Linked DNA regions of Homo sapiens: all the other regions are linked to region 3. The links are contacts of gene promoters, found by promoter capture Hi-C in human tissues and cell types (Jung and others, 2019). All regions are on one chromosome and are shown on one strand. The core of a region is centred on a gene start or on the middle of the fragment in contact, and the rest is flanking DNA. Distances in the headings are between cores, read along the strand shown. Region 1 has its middle 16 kb from the start of NAGS. Region 2 holds the start of FAM215A (family with sequence similarity 215 member A). Region 3 holds the start of ASB16 (ankyrin repeat and SOCS box containing 16). Region 4 overlaps PYY (peptide YY). Region 5 has its middle 2.1 kb from the start of TMEM101.

The links. Contacts are between HindIII fragments. The study calls those that stand out against the background at their distance.
Region 1: a contact is called between a fragment that was not itself captured here and the fragment with the promoter of ASB16 in region 3, in 2 of the 25 tissues and cell types used here (lymphoblastoid cells and mesendoderm cells).
Region 2: the fragment with the promoter of FAM215A here is called in contact with the fragment with the promoter of ASB16 in region 3 in 1 of the 25 tissues and cell types used here (aorta).
Region 4: a contact is called between a fragment that was not itself captured here and the fragment with the promoter of ASB16 in region 3, in 1 of the 25 tissues and cell types used here (lymphoblastoid cells).
Region 5: a fragment that was not itself captured here is called in contact with the fragment with the promoter of ASB16 in region 3 in 2 of the 25 tissues and cell types used here (lymphoblastoid cells and mesenchymal stem cells).

The regions. Positions count from the first base shown.
Region 1 is chr17:43,986,439-43,990,367 of GRCh38, forward strand. It overlaps a transcript of PYY not described here. Among named protein-coding and RNA genes, the nearest start is that of NAGS, 16 kb to the right of the region's middle. The HindIII fragment of the contact is 7,936 bases long and covers 1-3,929 here.
Region 2 is chr17:43,915,674-43,919,881 of GRCh38, forward strand. It overlaps FAM215A (family with sequence similarity 215 member A), which reads left to right and starts at 1,535. Exons shown (of 1, transcript NR_026770.1): 1 at 1,535-2,314. LOC105371787 (a long non-coding RNA gene) reads right to left here and starts at 1,551. Exons shown (of 2, transcript XR_001752898.2): 1 at 1,465-1,551. LOC107985086 (a long non-coding RNA gene) reads left to right here and starts at 3,174. Exons shown (of 2, transcript XR_001752899.2): 1 at 3,174-3,826. RefSeq lists enhancers at 1,357-2,178, 2,179-2,999. The HindIII fragment of the contact is 7,093 bases long and covers 1-4,208 here.
Region 3 is chr17:44,168,880-44,172,941 of GRCh38, forward strand. ASB16 (ankyrin repeat and SOCS box containing 16) reads left to right here and starts at 1,825. Exons shown (of 5, transcript NM_080863.5): 1 at 1,825-2,211; 2 at 3,167-3,434. The coding sequence starts at 1,911. The HindIII fragment of the contact is 17,920 bases long and covers 1,432-4,062 here.
Region 4 is chr17:43,949,275-43,953,504 of GRCh38, forward strand. PYY (peptide YY) reads right to left here. Exons shown (of 4, transcript NM_001394028.1): 2 at 4,022-4,209; 3 at 3,835-3,915; 4 at 3,459-3,706. The coding sequence starts at 4,209. The coding sequence ends at 3,682. Among named protein-coding and RNA genes, the nearest start is that of PYY, 2.6 kb to the right of the region's middle. RefSeq lists an enhancer at 3,701-4,204. The HindIII fragment of the contact is 8,547 bases long and covers 1-4,230 here.
Region 5 is chr17:44,015,203-44,018,968 of GRCh38, forward strand. It overlaps a transcript of TMEM101 not described here. Among named protein-coding and RNA genes, the nearest start is that of TMEM101, 2.1 kb to the left of the region's middle. RefSeq lists an enhancer at 1-103 and a silencer at 1,439-1,733. The HindIII fragment of the contact is 5,030 bases long and covers 1-3,765 here.

The sequences.
Region 1 (3,929 bases), core at 1,022-3,521, 180 kb before region 3:
AAGACTGGGTCATGTGGCTTCCTGTGCACCCCAAGGTTCTGTAGCCTTGCAGCTTAAAGGAAAGGAGTTTGAATATTGTGGCACCAGACAAGCCTGAACTGAAATTCCAGCTCTACAGCCCACTGATTTTCAGCAAGCCACTTTGCCTTCCCAAGCCCTGGTTTCCTCATCTGTAAATGGAAAGAACAATAATAGCCTTGCAAGGTCATGTAAGGACCACAGATATTGGGGAAAAAAACACAGAGCAGGGGTTCATTATACCCTTCCCAGGGCTGCTGTCTGCCTCAGGACTCAGAAACCAGGAGCCACCGTCAGCGCAGCCTGCGTGTTCCTGCCCTCTGCCCACATACCTGCTGACACGTGGATTCTCAACACCAGCTGTCACAAACTATTTTTGGGATCCCAACTCTAACTATCATCCCAGTTTTGTTGCATGATAAGCACACTGCTAAGCATTTTACATTTAATCCCACAGCAATCCTATGAGGTTCACATTATTAGCTCCACATTACTCATAGGGAAACTGAGGCTCAGAGAGATTATGCGACCTGCCCAAGTTCCTACAGCAAGTCAACGGCAACACCAGGGCTCAGCTCAGGCCGGTCTGGCCCTGGCCTCATGAAGCCAGATGCTAACACATTCCTCGGGCCCCTGTGTCCACCCCTCCTCTGGTGGTCAGCACAGACATGGTGACCGTGGCCCTGAAACCATGTCTCTATTACCAATATCATCAGACTGGGCAGAGCTCTCCCCTCCCTTGCCCTTATTAATTGCACCTGGAGACTCCTGAGAAAATGGGGCTTCCCTCCCTCCCCGCCGCTGCTCTCTGACTTAATTACTTCTCCTCCTGGCTGTAATGAATGTTTCTGAGCCCCTGAGACTGAGCTTCATCAGAAGCAGCTGCCTCCAGGACTCTAGCCCTGTCTCCCCAGCCCTATTCCTCTGGGCCCAGCCCATCGCCTCTACCCTGGGACTTCAGCTACAAAAGGCATCTGGGCAGGGGAGACTCCCAGCCTCTCAGCCTCCCTGCTACTGATGGAATTCAGCTCGAAGATCAGACCTTGAGAGGTCGACCCATACTGGGGGTTCTGAATCCTCAGTCCCCCATCCAGCAATCTGTCTCCAGGTCTTGGAGCAGACAGCTCAGAATGACCACTCTTCCCAGCTTCCCACATGCCACACCCCTGTGGGGCTGGCATGAAGAGGCCATTTCTTCCCTTTGTTCATCCAACCAACATTCACTGGGCCCCTCGTCTGTGCCAGTCCTTGCTCCAGGCACTGAGAGGAGGCCAGTGCCTGTTGTTCTGAGCAAAACAGACATGGCATGTGCCCTCTAAGAGCTTACAGTCCAGCAGGGAACACAGCCCAAAACAAACAGATGAACAGAGAACTAAAATTAGCAATAGGGAGGGAGGAAGGGGGCAAGGATGGAGAACGAGTGCTTCGGTAGCAGGGAGGGGCAGAGAGCGGTGGGACATATGCCTCCATCTGTCCTGTCCAGTCCCCACGCCGGAAGTCCTCACAGCAGTCTGCTCTGCATCCCTCCTAATTCAGACCAACATGGTCTACTGGACCATCACCTCCAATCACCCAGGGCCACAGCCACACGCCATCCCACTCATCCATCACTGAAATGACCACAGGGAGAGGAGAAGGTGACCCGTGGGAGCCCCAGAGCCACCAAGTCAGGAGGAAGGGCAGCAGAATGAAGACATTTCCTCCTGTTTCTGCCTCTTCATCCTTCCACCAGGGTCTCATCCCACTGCCAATCATCAAAATAATTTCCAGGTAGATTAAAGAGTTAAATATAAAAATAAATTGAACTGTGGAAAACAGGACGAAATGGAATCATCAGACCTCTTGCGGAAAGGGAGCTTTACGAGCGTAAAAGCTCTGGAAGAAATCACAAAAAGAAAGGTCAACAGCCTTGCCCGCACAAGCGTTAAATGGTGTGCATGTCATAAAAGCGTAACTGAAATCACAGATCAGACCACCTCGCTTTGCCAGGCTAACTTTAATTTATCCTCAATTCAGCTCCCCGGGGAAGCTTCCCTGACCACTTCACCTGCCCTGGGTTGACTGCCACCCTGAGCACTCCAGGGCACTCAATCCTCTCTCAGAGCGGAGTTGAAACCATGTTGTGATGATTTCTGTATATTTCCATCCCCATGGACCATGGGCACCTTGACATTTTATTGTTTTGATAATCTCCATGGCCAGCACACAGAGATATTTAACACAAAGTAGAACTCAATAACATCTTTTTTTCTTTTTAGTGGATATTTTCTGGTTCTCTAGCTTTTTTTTTTCTTTTTCTTCTTTCTTTCTGTCTTTTTTTTTTTGAGACGGAGTATCACTCTGTCACCCAGGCTGGAGTGCAATGGCAAAATCTCGGCTCATTGCAACCTCCACCTCCTGGGTTCAAGTGATTCTCCCACCTCAGCCTCCGGAATAGCTGGGATTACAGGCATGCACCAACACACCGGCTAATGTTTGTATTTTCAGTAGAGACAGGGTTTCGCCATGTTGGCCAGGCTGGTCTTGAACTCCTGACCTCAAGTGATCTGCCCGCCTCAGCCTCCCAAAGTGCTGAGATTACAAGTGTGAGCCACCGCACCCGGCCCTAGCATTTTAATTGTAAAAAACACATAACAGGCTGGGCGCGGTGGCTCACGCCTGTAATCCCAAGACTTCGGGAGGCCAAGGCGGGCGGATCACGAGGTCAGGAGATCAAGACCATCCTGGCTAACACGGTGAAACCCCGTCTCTGCTAAAAATACAAAAAATTAGCCGGGCGTGGTGGCGGGCGCCTGTAGTCCCAGCTACTCGGGAGGCTGAGGCAGGAGAATGGTGTGAACCCAGGAGGCAGAGCTTGCAGTGAGCTGAGATCATGCCACTGCACTCCAGCCTGGGTGACAGAGCAAGACTCCGTCTCAAAAACAAACAAACAAACAAACAAAAAACACACATAACATAAAATTTGCCATCTTAATTTTTGGAGGAACTGCCATACTGCTTCCATAGCAGCCACACCATTTCACATTCCCACCCAGAGTACACTAGGATTCCAGTTTCTCCACATCCTCACAACACTTGTTGTTAGCCATCCTGATGTGTGTGAAGCAGTTTTGATTTGCATTTCTCAATAACTGTTTTTTAAATGAAGGAATCAATAGACTAAGAAAAATTCAGATGGCAAATATGACAAAGGGTTAATACAAGGCCAGCATGGTGGCTCCACACCTATAATCCCAGCACTTTGGGAGGCTGAGGTGAGAGGATCCTTTGAGCTCAGGAGTTTGAGGCTGCAGTGAGCTATGATCACACCACCGCACTCCAGCCTGGGAGACAGACCAAGAGGCTGTCTCTTTAAAAAAAAAAAAAAAAAAAAAAAAAAAAAAAAAAATATATATATATATATATATATATATATATATATATATATATATATATATATATATACACACAAATCTATAAGTAAGACATTAGGCTCCCCCAAAGGTAAATGGACATGAACAGACAAGTCCACTAGCAAGGAACCATACCAACATTGGCAACTAAAAAAGGCAAAATGGGATGCCATGTTTTACCTGGTAAGATTTCCAAAATAAATTAATCAAGCTCACAGATGGCAAGAATACAGGAAAACGGGCACACTGGCTGGCTCGTGGCTGGTGAGAGTGTACACTGGCACAACTCTTTGAAAAGCAGCTTCTCGACGGGGCGAGGTGGCTCACACCTGTAATCCCAGCACTTTGGGAGGCTGAGGCGGGCAGATCACTTGAGGTCAGGAGTTCGAGACCAGCCTGGCCAACATGGTGAAACCCTGTCTCTACTAAAAATACAAAAAATTAGCCAGGCACAGTGGCACACACCTGTAATCTCAGCTACTCGGGAGGCTAAGGCATGAGAATTGCTTGAAGCCAGGA
Region 2 (4,208 bases), core at 285-2,784, 250 kb before region 3:
TCCTGTCCTTACAAAGGAATGTGTAAGCACAGCTGATCAACATCTGCATAAGGAAAGATGTTTCTTTATGCATTTCTGGCTCCATCGAGACTCGTGACTCAACCAGTCCTGTGGCTGCCAACCAGAAGCAGACTCAGCATTCAAGGACCATTTTCCATACCCCTATATCTGCATGCCCAACCAATCAGCAGCACCTCTACCCTACCCTAGACCCTGCCCACCAAACTATCTTTGAAAAACTAATCTTCAAGTTTTGGGGGAGACCGATTTGAGTAATAACTATTTCCTGTGTGCCCGGCCTTGTGTCAATTACTCTTTCTTTACTGCAATGCCATGGTCTCAGTGGATTGGTTTTGTCTGTGCAGTAGGCAGGAAGAACCCATCAGGTGATTACAGTACCTGCACCCCCAACCTGCTTTGGGAAGAATCCAGCCAAAAAACTTGAGGCCTGCAGCCTCAGGGTGAGAACAAGACAAAAGGGGGATGGAGGGAGATTGACTCGCTGTGTCTCAGCTCCAGAGCAGCCCCCCTGCAGCCTCCCAAGGGTTTATGCAAATCATCAAAGGGATTCCTTGAGGCAAAAGGTTTGAGTCTGCAGTTCTGAGACCCCCAAGGATGTGAGGAGAGACCCAGGCCTATCTCCTTTGGGAGGGGCCCCAAACTTGGGGGAAGGGATACTGGATGCCAACTGAAACCCAAACATAAAATTCTAAGCTCACCCAACCATCTGAATGGACTCCTCCTCTCCACTCAGCAAAGGGCATTCCAAAGTTAACCTGAAAACTAGTTCAGGCCATGATGGGAAGGGGAGCCCAGTCATGCCTAATTATACGATCCCTCCTTTTGGACTTACTGATAGAACAGACTCTTTAAGTCTGAAAGGAAACATTTACAGTCTATTCTCTCTGAAGCCTGCCACCTGGAGGCTTCACCTGCGTGATAAAACCTTGGTCTCCACAATCTCTTATCTTAACCCAAACATTCCTTTCTGTTGATTTTAAGTCTTTAGACAGTAATTTAACTCTTTCCACCAATTGCCAATCAGAAAATCTTTCGATCTACTTATAACCTGGAAGTCGTCCACTTCCCCAACCCCATTCCAGTTGTCCAGCCTTTCCAGATCAAACCACTGTACATGTCGCATATATTATTGATGTCCGATGTCTCCCTGAAACACATAAAACCAAGTTGTGGCCTGATCACCTTGGGCACATGTTCTCAGGATCTGCTGAAGGCTGTCATGGGCCATTGGTCATGCATAGTAGGCTCAAAATAAATCCCTTCAAATATTTTACAGAGTTTGACTCTTTTGGTTGACACACCAAGCTCAAGCAGGAAGAACCGGGCTCAAGAACTGTCTCTCTCCTTTCTCTCTGTTAGGCATGGGGGGGAAGGGAGTGTTGTGTTAGGCATGCGGAGGGGAAGGGAACAGGGTTGTGTGCAGAGGAAAATGCAAATTCTTACCTTGTCAGGGTCTCTGACCTGATGGCGACCCGTGGTGGAGTCTTCACAGAGACAGATACCACTGCAAGGGCAGACCCAGACTGTGCAACCCCCAAAGCAGGTCTCCTCACTCACCGGGATAGATAGAACTATCGGCCCCAATTCCTCAGCCCTACCTGCAACCACCGCTTGCCATGGTTTCCTTGTGGGTGGAGGGTACTTTCCCGCCCCCTGGTTTCGGGCTTGCCCACGTGGCTTGCTCTGGCCATGGAATGAAGCAGAAACGAAAGCCTGCCAGTTCTGAGCCTACGCCGGAAGACGCCTTGGGCGGTTCCGCGGTCCCTGTGCGCTTCCACCTTCACCCAGAAGGACTTCTCTGGTGCAGCCGCTGCTTCTTCAGCCACGGCCCAAAAGGATCGGAGCCCCCTGGCCGATCCGCAGGTCTGCAGGGAGCCACAGAGCGCAGCGGCCGGCCCAGCGTTCAAGCCCAAGCACAGGCCTGCGAGAACCTTGTTCCAGCCACCGTTTGGGATGGTTGATTAGGACTTGTTGCTGTGGCGGTAGCTCACCAATCCAATGCGTGCACCCGCTCCTTTATTAGGCTATAGGGCCAGTGGCTGCGACAGGGACCTGATACAACAGTGCGTTAAATAAGGAGCTTATTGAGCTATCATGTCGTAAGCCGGTGGAGAAGTCCAGGGCTAGTGTGGGGGCTCCGGCGGGGGCTGTGGCCCCCATCCGCATGGAGCCTCCCCACGGTTCACAGGTCTCGGTCTTCGGAGCCTTCAGCCCCGTGAGCCCGAACAGTCCACACGGCGGCGCCAGACCCTCTTCCCAACGCCACCCTCTGAAGCCTCCGCTCCAACCGTCTCCACTTCTGCTTCAGGCTCAGGATTTTCACTTTTCTCGAATGGGGGTGGCCCTCCCCTGATCTTCTGAGTCGCAACAGCATCTCCCTCCCTCCAGGACCTCAGAGCCAGAGCTGGGCGAGAGGCCCTGACCTCCGGGGTAGGGTGGCAGCATCCCTGTGAAGGTGCGGTCCTGCCTCCCATCCCCAGGCGCCCGGCCTCTCCCACCCTCAGCGCCCTGCTCACCGCCAGCTGAAGATGCCAGGGCACCTCTGCTTCCTCCCTGCCCTCTCTGCAGTATCGCAGAGTGAGCATAAAAGGGCTTAATATAGGCTTCACTGGTCGTGGTGGCTCGCGCCTGTGAACTCAGTAACTTGGGAGGCCAAGGCCGGAGGATCACTTGAGGCCAGGAGTTCAAAACCAGCCTGGGCAACAAGGTGAGGCCTGTCTCTAAAAAAAAAAAAAAAAAAAAAAAAGAAAAGAAAAGAATAAAATAGGTTCCTTTTTCTGGGAGATTGATGTAGGGGAGCGAGCGTGTGTGAGTTGGAAGGGAGGCATTGAGGATCAGCCATTTAAAGCAGCACACAAGGATGTTCAAGGCTAGAGATCCACAGGTGTATTTTCAGAAACTGAATTTCCTGGCTGGGCGTGGTGGCTCACACCTGTAATCCCAGCACTTTGGGAGGCCAAGGCAGGAGGATCACTTGAGGTCAGGAGTTCAAGACCAGCCTGGCCAACATGGTGAAATCTTGTTTCTACAAAAAATAAAAATAAAAATCAGCTGGGTGTGGTGGTGGGTGCCTGTAATCCAAGCTACTTGGGAGGCTACGGCAGGAGAATCACTTGAACCTGGAAGGTGGAGGTTGAGATCACACTACTGCACTCCAGCCTGGGTGACAGAGTGAGACTGTCTCCAGAAAAAATCCCAAAACAAACAAACAAAACCCCTGAATTTCCTTGTGGACACCTTTTCTCTGGCAGCCTTTTTGAATGAGGGCTATGTTTTCTCCAATACTATATGGCCTGCGGACCGCTCAGCTTTCATTCCAGTGAAAACATTCCAGAACAAACTCCGGGTCAATCCCAGGTGTTTTTCCAATCAACTCGGGATGATTGTGTGTCACCTGCCGCCCAGCTAGAATGACACCTCTCCAGGCCTCTGACTTAGCTAGATCTCCACCATGTGACTCCACCATAGACTCCATGCCTTCTTCTTTTGCAAACCCTCGGACACCCAAACACCTACCAATTTCAGCCCTTTCTGTGCAGGTGCCGGAGCCCAGGAAGCACACATCAAGGCTCGCTTGCCAGCAGGGTGCTGCCAATAAAATGTAGTCACATGGAATTTGGAATGTGGAAAGGAGGTAGAAGTCATCCTTTCTTCCCCCGTAGCAGCAGGCGTGCAGGCCTCTGGTGATCAGCTGGACTCCATACTCCCCCACCAGTCACCAGCCTGGGGACTGTGGGGCTGCAAGGACCTCAGCAGCGGTTTCCCAAGTTTTCTGACTTCTTCCATCCTCTGGAAATCAGCTGTGGTAAAGTAGCCTGAAAGCCAGTGGTGCAACCCCCTCCCCCCAACCTTCACCATCTCTAGCCCCTCCAGTGATAAGCACTAATTGCCTATATACAACCCCTATTTGTTTGAAATATCTAGAGTAATTTCTGTTTTCCTATCTGGGGTAGTGTAACATAAAAAGAAATATAAATATATATTGGTCTCTGCCCCCAGTTCCTAACACAAAGCTCCTAAAACCCTTGGAAATTCCTGAATGATGGGGATGCTAGGAGCATTGTCTTCTTTTTTTTCTAATTTATCATTTTTCTTTTTTTCCAGATGTTTTTTCCTTTTTTTTTTTTTAAACTTAGGGTATACATGTGCACATTTAACTTTTTTTTTTTTTTTTTTTGAGACGGAGT
Region 3 (4,062 bases), core at 575-3,074:
TGGCCAACATGGCGAAACCGACTACTAAAAATACAAAAATCGGCCGGGCGCGGTGGCTCACGCCTGTGATCCCAGCACTTTGGGAGGCCGAGGCGGGCGGATCACGAGGTCAGGAGATCGAAACCATCCTATTCTTGGCTAATACGGCGAAACCTTGTCTCTACTAAAAATACAAAAAATTAGCCAGGTGTGGTGGCAGGCGCCTGTGGTCCCAGCTACTCGGGAGGCTGAGGCAGGAGAATGGCGTGAACCCGGGAGGCGGAGCTTGCAGTGAGCCGAGGTCGCGCCACTGCACTCCAGCCTGGGTGACAGAGCGAGACTCCATCTCAAAAAAAAAATAATAATAAATAAAAATACAAAAATCAGCTGGGCATGGTGGCATGCACCTATAATCCCAGCTACTCAGGCAGCTAAGGCAGGAGAATCACTTGAACCCCAGGAAACGGAGGTTTCAGTGAGCCGAGATCACCCCACTGCACTCCAGACTGGGTGACACCATGAGAAAAAAAAAAAAAGGATGATTGAAGGCAGTTTCTACAGACTAGTCTGTCCTGCTTGGAGAATGGGGGAGGCTGCCAGGTGGCTGCAGCAGCTGAAGGCAAAAAGTGTACCATCTTTTTTTTTTTTTCTTCTTTTTTTAAGAGATGGAGAGGCAGGGGGTGGTGGCTCACGCCTATAATCCTAGCACTTTGGGAGGCCGAGGCGGGCAGACCACGAGGTCAGGAGTTCGAGACCAGCCTGGCCAACATGGTGAAACCCTAAATTAAATCTCTACTAAAAATACAAAATTTAGCTGGGCATGGTGGCGGGTGCCTATAATCCCAGCTACTCAGGAGGCTGAGGCAAGAGAATCGTTTGAGCCCGGGAGGCGGAGGTTGCAGTGAGCCAAGATCGTGCCATTGCACTCCAGCATGGGAGACAGGGTGAGACTCTGTCTCAAAAAAAAAAAAAAAAAAAAAAAAGATATAGGTCTCACTGTGTTGCCCAGGATTGTCTCAAACTCCTAGGCTCAAGCAATCCTCCTGTCTTGGCCTCCCAAAGTGCTAGGATTACAGGCATGAGCCACCATTCTTGGCCCAAAGCACACCATCTATGTGGGGTCCTGGCTCTGCCTCTCACAAACTGTGACCTTGAGCCAGTAGATTACTTTGTTAAGCCTTAAATTCCTCATCTGTAAAACAGAGATAAGACCACCCATCTCAGGGGCATTCAACTGTGATAATTTCATTTATTGTCCAAACCAAGTTTACTAATTATTGGGTGGGCTGGGAAGTATGATCCCCTGGGTGAAGGTGGATATGAATGTGATTTAAACACCGTGAAACTCTGTGCATATGTACAGAGTTATTGCTGTTACTGCAGATGCTGGGAAGAGCTGCTCACCTTCTCAGTAACTCTGCCTTGACCTCCCCTTACCTCCTGTGCTGAGGTCAGCCCTCTCTCCTCCACGTGGGCCAATGGTGGCTCCTGCCCTCCAGCCAACATCAGAGAGGCTGGAGGCACCTTGTCTTCCTCCCAGCCCTGCCCATCTCCATGACTGACCTTTTTGCGCACCCTGGACCTTGCCAACCCAAGATGCTCGCTCTAGAGATGAAGGTGGATGCAGATGCTGGGGTTCGGGGGTGGCCTCAGCTGAGGGCCTGCTGACCAACCAAAGGGTATCGGCAGGGGCAGGGGCTGGCCCTCACCCTGGGCTGGGGGTTGGGCCAGCAGCTTCTCAGCACCAGGATCATGACTCTGAGCAAACCATGTTTACCAGAGCAGCAAAGGACCTATTTATAGCCTCAGCTGCTGCTTTCTCTGGCTCACGGTGGCGGGGGCAGGGTGGCTCCTCAGAGCAAGGGAGGTAGTCGGGTCGAGGGAACCTGGCTCTGCCCAGGTGCCACTGCCCAAACCCCTGGGCCCCATCCATGGCAAGAGAGACCTTCCCCTTCACCTCCTCCATGCTGCGCTCTCTCCGCCTGCAGCAGGAGTGGCTGGAATGGGAGGACCGGCGGCGGGCGGCTGCCCAGCAGTGCCGGAGCCGCAGGTGCCCGTCAAGTCCCCGGGCCCGACTCACTAGGCCTCACCGTTCCTGCCGAGACCCAGCTGTCCACCAAGCCCTCTTCTCCGGCAACCTGCAGCAGGTCCAAGCCCTGTTCCAAGATGAAGAGGCCGCCAACATGATTGTGGAGACTGTGAGCAACCAGCTGGCCTGGTCGGCTGAACAGGGTAGGGGGCACCAGAAGAGGGCAGAAGAGGAGGGAGAAAGAAGGGGAGTGGGTGGGGAAGGGGGAGAGTCTAGGCCCCTCCTTCCCTGCAGACCACAGACTATAGCAGCCCTTTCCACCACCTATCCTAGCTCCCTCCTAAACAGAGATGAGGCAGGGTTAGCAGTCTGTATGTCTTTTAAGAATTAAAAGTTGACCGGGCACAGTGGCTCACGCCTGTAATCCCAGCACTTTGGGAGGCCAAGGCAGGCGGATCACGAAGTCAGAAGTTTGAGACCAGCCTGACCAACATGGTAAAACCCCATCTCTACTAAAAATAGAAAAATTAGCCGGGCATGGTGGTGCGCACCTGTAATCCCAGCTACTCAGCAGCTGAGGCAGAAGAATCACTTAAACCCGGGAGGCGGAGCTTGCAGTGAGCCAAGATAGCGCCACTGCATTCCAGCCTGGGGGACAGAGCGAGACCCTGCCTAAAAAAAAAAAAAAAAGAGACAAGGTCTCACTATGTTGCCCAGGCTCATCTCGAACTCCTGAGGTCAAGTGATCATCCCGCCTTGGCCTCCCAAAGTGCTAGGATTACAGGTGTGAGCCACCACCCCAGGCCCCAAGGTGAACAAGCCTTTGACACTATTAGCCATTCAAAGACGCTGAGATTTCCTTAATGGGAGTCACTCTACTTAGTTGGCCCCTGTGGTTTTATACAGCAATTAATTTTTTTATGACACATACTATGTTTTGTTACAGATTGATAAGCTGTATTAAAAGGCTGTTCCAATTTATTCTTCCACTTCAGGACTTGAATAAGCCCCCTTCCACAGGTACAGCCTGGCAGTGTTTGTGCTCAGCAAACCATGCAGAGGGAAGGCCAGTGTCAGCTGTCAGCTGGAACCAGCATCCCCACTCCCTGCCCTGCCCTGTCTTATACACCACCTCCCAAAACTATTTGCTCTCCCTAGGGTTCTGGGTGCTGACCCCCAAGACCAAGCAGACGGCACCCCTCGCCATCGCTACAGCCCGAGGCTACACAGACTGTGCTCGACACCTGATCCGGCAGGGAGCTGAGCTGGATGCCCGTGTCGGGGGTCGCGCTGCCTTGCATGAGGCCTGTGCCCGAGCCCAGTTTGACTGTGTGCGGCTGCTGCTGACCTTCGGAGCCAAGGCTAATGTGCTGACTGAGGAGGGCACGACTCCTTTGCACCTCTGCACGATCCCCGAGTCCTTGCAGTAGGTGCCTGGGGGCTGAGACAGTTTGGGGAGAAATGTGTGTGTGTGTCTCCAGCTCACAAGGCCAGAAGAGGGAACCTGACAACCACATGCAGCTTTGTGGTTCATAAAGCACCGCATATACACATCTTCACAATAACCTGGAGACACCTCATCCTACAGATGAGAAAAATGAAGCTCAGAAAGGCTTAGTAACTTGTCCAAGGTCACATCTGCTAAGCCCAGGAGGCAGAAGCCCTGTTGCTTTTTGGGAAAACTCTGTTCCAACTGCAGTCTCCAATACCCTGTGAATCCTTTGTAGCCAAACCTAGCTGTTTTTTTTTGTTTTTTGAGACGAAGTCTTGCTCTGTTGCCCAGGCTGTAGTGCAGTGGCGTGGTCTCAGCTCACTGCAACCTCTGCCTCCTGGGTTCAAATGCCTCAGCCTCCCAAGTAGCTGGAATTACAGGTGTGTGCCACCACACCTGGCTAGGTTTTGCATTTCTAGTGGAGATGGGGTTTTGCCATGTTGGCCAGGCTGGTCTTGAACTCCTGTCCTCAAGTGATCCACCCACCTTGGCCTCCCAAAGTGCTGGGATTACAGGCGTGAGCCACCATGCCCAGCCCAAATTCCTAGTTGTTTTGAGGTAT
Region 4 (4,230 bases), core at 113-2,612, 220 kb before region 3:
TGAGATCACCCTGGCCAACATAGTGAAACCCCATCTGTACTAAAAATACAAAAATTAGCCGGGTGTGGTGGCGCGTGCCTGTAGTCTCAGCTACTCCAGAGCCTGAGGCAGGAGAATCGCTTGAACCCGCGAGGCGGAGGTTGTCGTGAGCCTAGATCATGCCACTGCACTCCAGCCTGGGCGACAGAGCGAGACTCCATCTCAAAAAAAAAAAAAAAATGATGAGGTCATACTACAGTGTGTGAACCCCTAATCCTATAGGACTGTTCGCCTTTGAAAAGGGGAAATTTAGACACAGAAACAGCCATGCAAAGAGGGAAGATGATGTGAAGAGGCACAGCTCAGACACCCATCTTCAAGGCAAGGAGAGAGGCCTGGAACAGATCAGAAGGAATCAACCTGCCAACTCCTTCATTTCAGACTGCTAGCCACAGGAACTGTTGTTTAAACCACCCAGTCTGTGATTCTTTGTTATGGCAGCCCTAGCAAACTAACCAGCAATGCCATCTTCATCTGATTCTCTTTAAATACTCCAAGCAGGAGACCAGTTACCATTTAAGTCCAACTACCCCAAGAATATCAGACTGGGGAGGCCACATGTAGGTACAATGGTCAACAGCCCCGGCTGAACTCAACAGCCAGCACTAGCATGCGAATGAGCCTTCTCAGGCATCAGCCCAGTGGATCCTTAACCACAACCCTGCCAACCTCTGATAGTATCCGCATGTGAGACTCAAAGCAAGAACTGCCAGGGGGAGCACTTCCTGATCCTGACCCACAAAATCCTGAGTGATGTACAATGGTTGCTTGAAGCTGCCAAGTTTTAGGGTAACTTATTATACAACATAGTAACCAGAGTGCTTACCTTCCCCTTCCCTCCCTTGCCACTGGCCGGAACACAGATGAGGCCATGGTGGGCTGTCTTCAGTCCTGTAAATGACATAGATGAGGGCATGGGGAAGCCACAAACGAGGAGCCTGGGCTCTTGGATGCCCTCATGGAGCACAACTGCCAACTCCCCACGTGCCACTCACATTTCATGCAAGAGAAATAAATTTCCATCTTGTTTAAGCCACTGTTAATTCCACCTGTTTTTTTTTTAAGCCAAATCAATATCCTAGTAATATGATATATGTAAAACAAACAGCTCAGTGTCTCGCACATAAATAAGTGCTTTTTGGAAAAAATAATTATTGCTATTGTCATTATTATTATACTAATAATAATTATTAATAATGTTATTACCCTAAACTGCTCAACACTCCTCAAAATGAACATGAGGTGGACCCATGTCACTGATGGTCAATGAGACATGTCAAGCTGGGCAGAAATTGTCTGTGGTCATGCCTAACTCATACCAGGTCTCTCTTCCATCCGCCTTAAACTGACTATAGCTCTCCCAGGCAGACCAATAGACAGGGGATCATGGACACCAACACACAGACACATCCTCCCACTCCCCACCCACACAATGAACCAAAGCTCAGGGCAGCCACTGTGTGCTCTCGTCCCACCTGTCCTGTTGCAGGAGAGAAGACAGGAGGCAAAATAGGATGGAAAGTGGGTCTAAGATAATGAGTGGGGAGAGGGAGTCAAAGAAACTAACTCCATCCCCAAGAAATCAGGCAAGGCTTCCAGGAGGAGGTGACCACTATCCTGAGAGTATCTTCCAGGCTTAAGAGAGGGAAAGGGCTCTGCAAGGAGGTAAAGTGGCCTGGGCAAAGGCGCAGAGCATCAGAATCCACATAGCCAGTGACCTCCACCTGCCTCCTCTGCCTCATCCTTTCAGCTCTACCTCCAGGGAGGCTGGAGGGCAGCACAGGGGAGGGTGGGTGTCAGAGCCCTGTGGCCCCCAAGGGACCTGTGTCCAAGCAGGGAACTTCTCTGCAGCTATGGCAGAGTCAGCTTTAGAGTCTTCTCTCCTTCCAGAACCATTGAACTGCAAATACTCCTTAAAAACCCTGATCCAGCCCAGGCGCGGTGGCTCACGCCTGTAATCCCAGCACTTTGGGAGGCCGAAGCAGGCAGATCACGAGGTCAGGAGATTGAGACCATCCTGGCCAACACGGTGAAACCCCGTCTCTACCAAAAATACAACAATTAGCTAGGTGTGGTGGTGAGAACCTGTAGTCCCAGCTACTCGGGAGGCTGAGGCAGGAGAATCACTTGGACCCAGGAGGTGGAGGTTGGAGTGAGTCAAGATCGCACCACTGCACTCCAGCCTGGGCGACAAAAGCAAAAACTCCATCTCTAAAACAAAAAACAAAACAAAAAAACCCCTGATCCGCTGCAAGGATGCCCCCAGCCTTCCTGTCGTTTTTCCCCTCTCTGGGTCACAGGTTTTGAAGTCAACCTGATTTCCCCCCTCATCTCCTAGTGCCCTGCTTCAGATTTGGGCAGGTCTTGCTGAACTGGAGTCCCAGAAGAGAGCCCACAGATACAGGAGGCTGTGTCCCAGGAAGGAGACATAGGCCCTTCCTTCTTGAGGCCCCAGGAGGGAGACAGGACACAGAGACATAGAACTCTCAGTGAACAGAGCAGAGGCCCTGAGAGCTGGGCAGTTAGAGAGGGCAGGAAGAGTGCAATTGGGCAATCAAGGCAAGCTTCTTGGAGGAAAGGGGCAGGGAAGGGTGGATGTCAGGGGAGATCAGTCTGCAGGCAGGCTCTGGAATAGGTACAGAGTGGTGAGGGATTCGAGTTGGATTCCAGTTTAAACATCCACAGAGCCTTTAGGCTTCAGTAGCTAGTCCAGGGGAGGGGGGTACATGGAGGGTGTCCCTATGGCCTTGTCACTAAGAAAGAACAGTTCGTGACTTATCCACTGCGTGTGAATTCAGCGAGATTGGGGAGGGAGGTTTCTTAGGGATAGGGCAGCCTCCACACTCCCATTGCTCCTCTACTCAGGGAAAGGGGGACGGTAGAAATGGCCTGCCTCTCCGGCCAGCACACGTACAGCCATCTCACCCCCACACGGCTCTTCCTCCACAGCCCCATTTTGGATTACACTTCACCTCCAGCCACTCCAGCCCTGGGCGCTAGTACTACAGCTCCTGGGGAAACGCCCCGGGGTGTTGGTGCCCGACTCGTCCCCCAGCCGTCTTCGGCTTCACGGGGTGGGGGAGGGACAGCCCTGACCCCATCTGCTCTCCTAGGCTGCCTAGCAGGCTCCTGTCGCCGCTCCCCGCCCCTTCTTCCAGAGTTCCATCCACTCCTGCCCCCACTCGACCAGAGTTCCTTCCACAGCAGTTCCTGGCCTGGGCGCTGTCCAGCTCCAGGCTGGGTGGTCGAGTCTTCCCTGGGCTCCGAGCAGAGGGAACTCCGCAGCCCGCCCCAGCCTTGTCCTGGGGCGCCTCTGTCCAAGTCGGTTTTCTCTTCCCTGGCCCCCACGCCTCCACCCTCCACTTCTACGGGATGCCACCTCCACGAAGGAGAAAGGAAAGGAAATACAAAGGCATACATTCCGTTTCTGTGGAATTTGCTCTTTATTTTGGGACCAGGGAAGGACCACACACAGCCCTCCAGCCCAGGGGGCGGGGGCACCGAGACGCGGGCGGAGGGCCGCACCCGAACCCTGCCCAGACGCCGCCGTCGGGAGGCAGAATCCGGGTTTCTGGGGTCGGGAGTGCGTATGCAAATGACGTGGGCGTGGTTGGCAGATCTCCCAGGAGGCCTCAGGGGTCCTCACCACAGGTCTGGGCCCTCCGACCTGCGGAAGCGAAGGGGAAGGAATTGGATCTGGGGAGGCGAGCCTGGGAGACGTCGTTAAGTGATGTTGCCAGGGTAGGGCCAGGCCGCGCTCTCGGATGCAGGATGTGTGGTAACGGGCGCTTTTACCGCGACCTGACGGGGCGGTCCTCGCCGTCGGGGAAGAACGTTTTGGAAAGAAGCGTGTCCGGGCCGTCTCTTTTCCCATACCTGGGGGCGGGGAAGGGAAGAGCGTGGTCAGATCTGGCCACGCCCCCAGGTGGAGCGGGGCCGCAGGGTGAGAGCCCCAGGGGTCCCGCTCCGCGCCTGCGCTCACCGCTGCCGGGTGACCAGGTTGAGGTAGTGGCGCAGGGAGGCGTAGTAGCGGTTCAGCTCCTCCGGCGAGGCGTCTTCGCGGGGAGCCTCGGGTTTGATGGGGTAGGCGTCGACCAGCGCCCCTAGGCAGACGAGCAGGGCCAGAAGCACTGTGGTCAAGGCGGGCCACGGCCTGCGCACGAACACCATCTGGGAAGGCGACATTGGGAC
Region 5 (3,766 bases), core at 1-2,500, 150 kb before region 3:
TAGCAGAAGTCTTGGACCGTAGTATGATGTATTGAAGCAAACTGGTCTTTGAATGCAGCCCGATCAGGGCCCTAATCCTGATTCCAACCCTGTGTGATTCTGGGCACATCACCTAAACTTTATGAGACTCATCATGAAATGGGGATAATTACACCTACCTCAGAGTTGTGAACTTTTTTTTTCTTTTTTTTTTGTTTTGTTTTGTTTTTGAGACGGAGTCTCACTCTGTCGCCTAGGCTGGAGTGCAATGGCACGATCTTGGCTCACTGTAACCTCCGCAACCTGGGTTCAAGCGATTCTCCTGCCTCAGCCTCCTGAGTAGCTGAGACTACAGGCTCTCGCCACCACGCCCGGCTAATTTTTTGTATTTTTAGTAGAGACGGAGTTTCACCGTCTTAGCCAGGATGGTCTCGATCTCCTGACTTCGTGATCCGCCCGCCTCGGCCTCCCAAAGTGCTGGGATTACAGGCATGAGCCACCGCGCCAGGCCAGAGTTGTGAACTTTAAATGTGACAAGGTCGGTCCTAGTACATAGTAGTGGTTCAATAAATGATACACATAACGCACCAGAGGAAACCCCCGTTTCTGTTAAGATCAAAGTAAGGGGTCCTCCTGGCTCAAAGTCACCTCTTTGGGTTTGCCTTTTGCCTGTGCCCTGAGAGAAAAAGGAGATCTGAACATCTGGGACATCTCAAGTCAGTCCATTTCTCCAGCTGCCATGCTCCCGCTGTAACCCAAATTGTCATACTTTGTCAGTTTAATTGCAGCAGACATCCAGGTGGTCTCTGCATTCCCCTCCAGTGTGTTCTCAGCCCCTTCTCCCACGCCCCACCCGTTTATATGTTCTCATAACATCAGCTACCTTCCTTTGAATCACTTGGCACGGTGGCAATTAGATAGATAGATAGATATAGATACACACGCACACACACACACACACACATATATATATATCTGCTTTACATATATATGCTTTTTTTTTATTTTTGAGACAGGGTCTCACTGTGTCACCCAGGCTGGAGTGCAGTGGTGCGATCTTGGCTCACTACAGCCTACACCTCCCAGGTTCAAGCGATTCTCCTGCCTCAGCTTCCCAAGTAGCTGGGATTACTGGCGCTTGCCACCACACCCGGCTAATTTTTATTTTTAGTGGAGACAGGGTTTCACCATGTTGGCCAGGCTGCTCTCGAACTCCTAACCTCAAGCGATCCAACCGCCTTGGCCTCCCAAAGCGCTAGGATTACAGGCGTGAGACACCGCACCCAGCCAATATATTTGTGATTGTTTTATTGACAATCTTCCCCTACTAGATCGCAAGCTCCCTAAGCACAAACACGGTGCCTGGGTTTCTGTTTACTGTTTACAGATGCTCCTTGACTTGTGATGGAGTTATATCCTGATAAACCCATCATAGGTTGAAAATACTGTAAGTTGAAAATGTGTGGCTGACTGGAAGCTGTGGCTTGCTGACACTGCCCAGCATTGTAAGAGAAATACAGTTTCCACTGAATGCAGATCTGCTTTCGCACCAATGTAAAGTTGAAAACTCCAATGCTGGGAACCATCTGTAGTATACAGGATGCCCTCAGGACCTAGTATACAGGATGCCCTCAGGAAATATGTGCTGTACAGATAAATGAAAAGGTGTTGGGCTGGGCGCGGTGGCTAACGCCTGTGATCCCAGCACTTTAGGAGGCCGAGTCGGGTGGATCACGAGGTCAGGAGTTCAAGACCAGCCTGGCCAAGATGGTGAAACCCCGTCTCTACTAAAAATACAAAAATTAGCCAGACGTGATGGCTGTAATCCCAGCTACTCCGGGCGCCTGTAGTCCCAGCTACTTGGGAGGCTGAGGCAGGAGAATCGCTTGAACCTGGGCGGCGGACCTTGCAGTGAGCCGAGATCACGCCACTGCACTCCAGCCTGGGCGACAGATTGAGAGACTCTGTCTCAAAAAAAAAAAAAAAATTCCCACCAGGCCGGGTGTGGTGGCTCACGCCTATTATCCCAGCAGTTTGGGAGGCCAAGTGGGGGGTTGGATCACCTGAGGTTAGGGGTTCGAGACCAGCGTGGCCAACATGGTGAAAACCCATCTCTACTAAAGATACAAAAAATTAGGCTGGGCACGGTGGCTCATGCCTGTAATCCCAGCACTTTGGGAGGCCAAGGATCACGAGGTCAGGAGATCGAGACCATCCTGACTAACACAGTGAAACCCCGTCTCTACTAAAAATACAAAAAAAATTAGCCAGGAGTGGTGGCAGGCGCCTGCAGTCCCAGCTACTCGGGAGGCTGAGGCAGGTGAATAGCGTGAACACAGGAGGCAGAGCTTACAGTGAGCCGAGATCGCGCCACTGCACTCCAGCCTGGGTGACAAGGTGAGACAACATCTCAAAAAAAAAAAAAAAAAAAAAAAGCCAGGCATGGTGGGAGGCACCTGTAATTCCAGCTACTTGGGAGGCTGAGGCAGGAGAATTGCTTGAATCTGGGAGACGGAGGTTGGAGTGAGCCAAGTTCGCGCCATTGCACTCCAGCCTGGGCGACAAGAGCGAAACTCTTGTCTCAAAAAAAAAAAAAAATTCCCAACCAGCCAGTGAAAGGTGGGCAATAAAACCCCTTTTCACATTTCATTTTAAACCGGCCACTAGGGTCGGGCATGGTGGCTCACACCTGTAATCCCAGAACTTTGGAAGGCAGAGGCACGGGTGGATCACTTGAGGCCAGAAGTTCGAGACCAGCCTGGCCAACATGGCAAAACCCCATCTCTACTAAAAATTAGCTGGGCATGGTGGCGGGAGCCTGTGATCCCAACTATTCAGGAGGCTGAGGCAGAAGGATCGCTTGAACCTGGGAGGAGGTAGTTGCAGTGAGTCGAGATCGCACCACTGCACTCCAGGCTGGATGACAGAGCAAGACTCTATCTCATAAATAAACAAACACAGTCACTAGGATAAGGTCTGGGTAAATCAGAAAGACCATGAGAAGCCAGGCATGGTGGCCCACATCTGTAATCCAGCTACTCAGGAGGTTGAGGCAAGAGGATTCCTCGAGGAGTTTGAGGCTGCATTGAGCTATGATTGCACTACTGCACTCCACCCTGGGTGACAAAGCAAGACCCCCATCTCTAAAAAGTAAAAAAACACGAGAGAGGAACATATAGATGCAAAGAACTAGGGAATGAGATTGTATACGTGTATGTTGGAGGGTGGGGAGGTCTCTAGGCAAGGAGAATGAGAAAAAGTCTGGGTTAAAGGTAATTTTGTCTATCTCTACCCACCAGTGACAACCACACAAAACAAATTTCCTTTACCACAATATAGGCACATAGTACAGAATCAACTTTCCAGTTGGTTTTATTTTTCCAGTCTCCTCACCTCTCCGTTTCAAATGGCTGAGGTGTACAGCCCTAAAGTGTTGACGAGGACCAGAACCAGGATTGTGTACAACATGTCCATAAAATAGTCCTAGGAGTCTGCCTGGGTTGTCCCTATAGGCACAATGCCCCACCCTCCCATCATAACCTTAGCAAGCAGTTTCCAATCAAGTCTCCAGCAGCAGTGGCCAGGGACTTGTGTCAGGGGGAGGGGAAGATTGGATTGAGGAAGCTTGCCTTGGTACCCACTGCGCCCCTTCTCAGGGCTGAAGTCCCTCTCTACCTTTTCCTGCTCTTTCCTCTTTCCCAGAGGGATACTGAGAAGGGAAGGACCTGGGGCCAAATCCTCATTTCTAGGGTTGGGACAGATGCTGGCATGCTATCAGGCCAGAAGA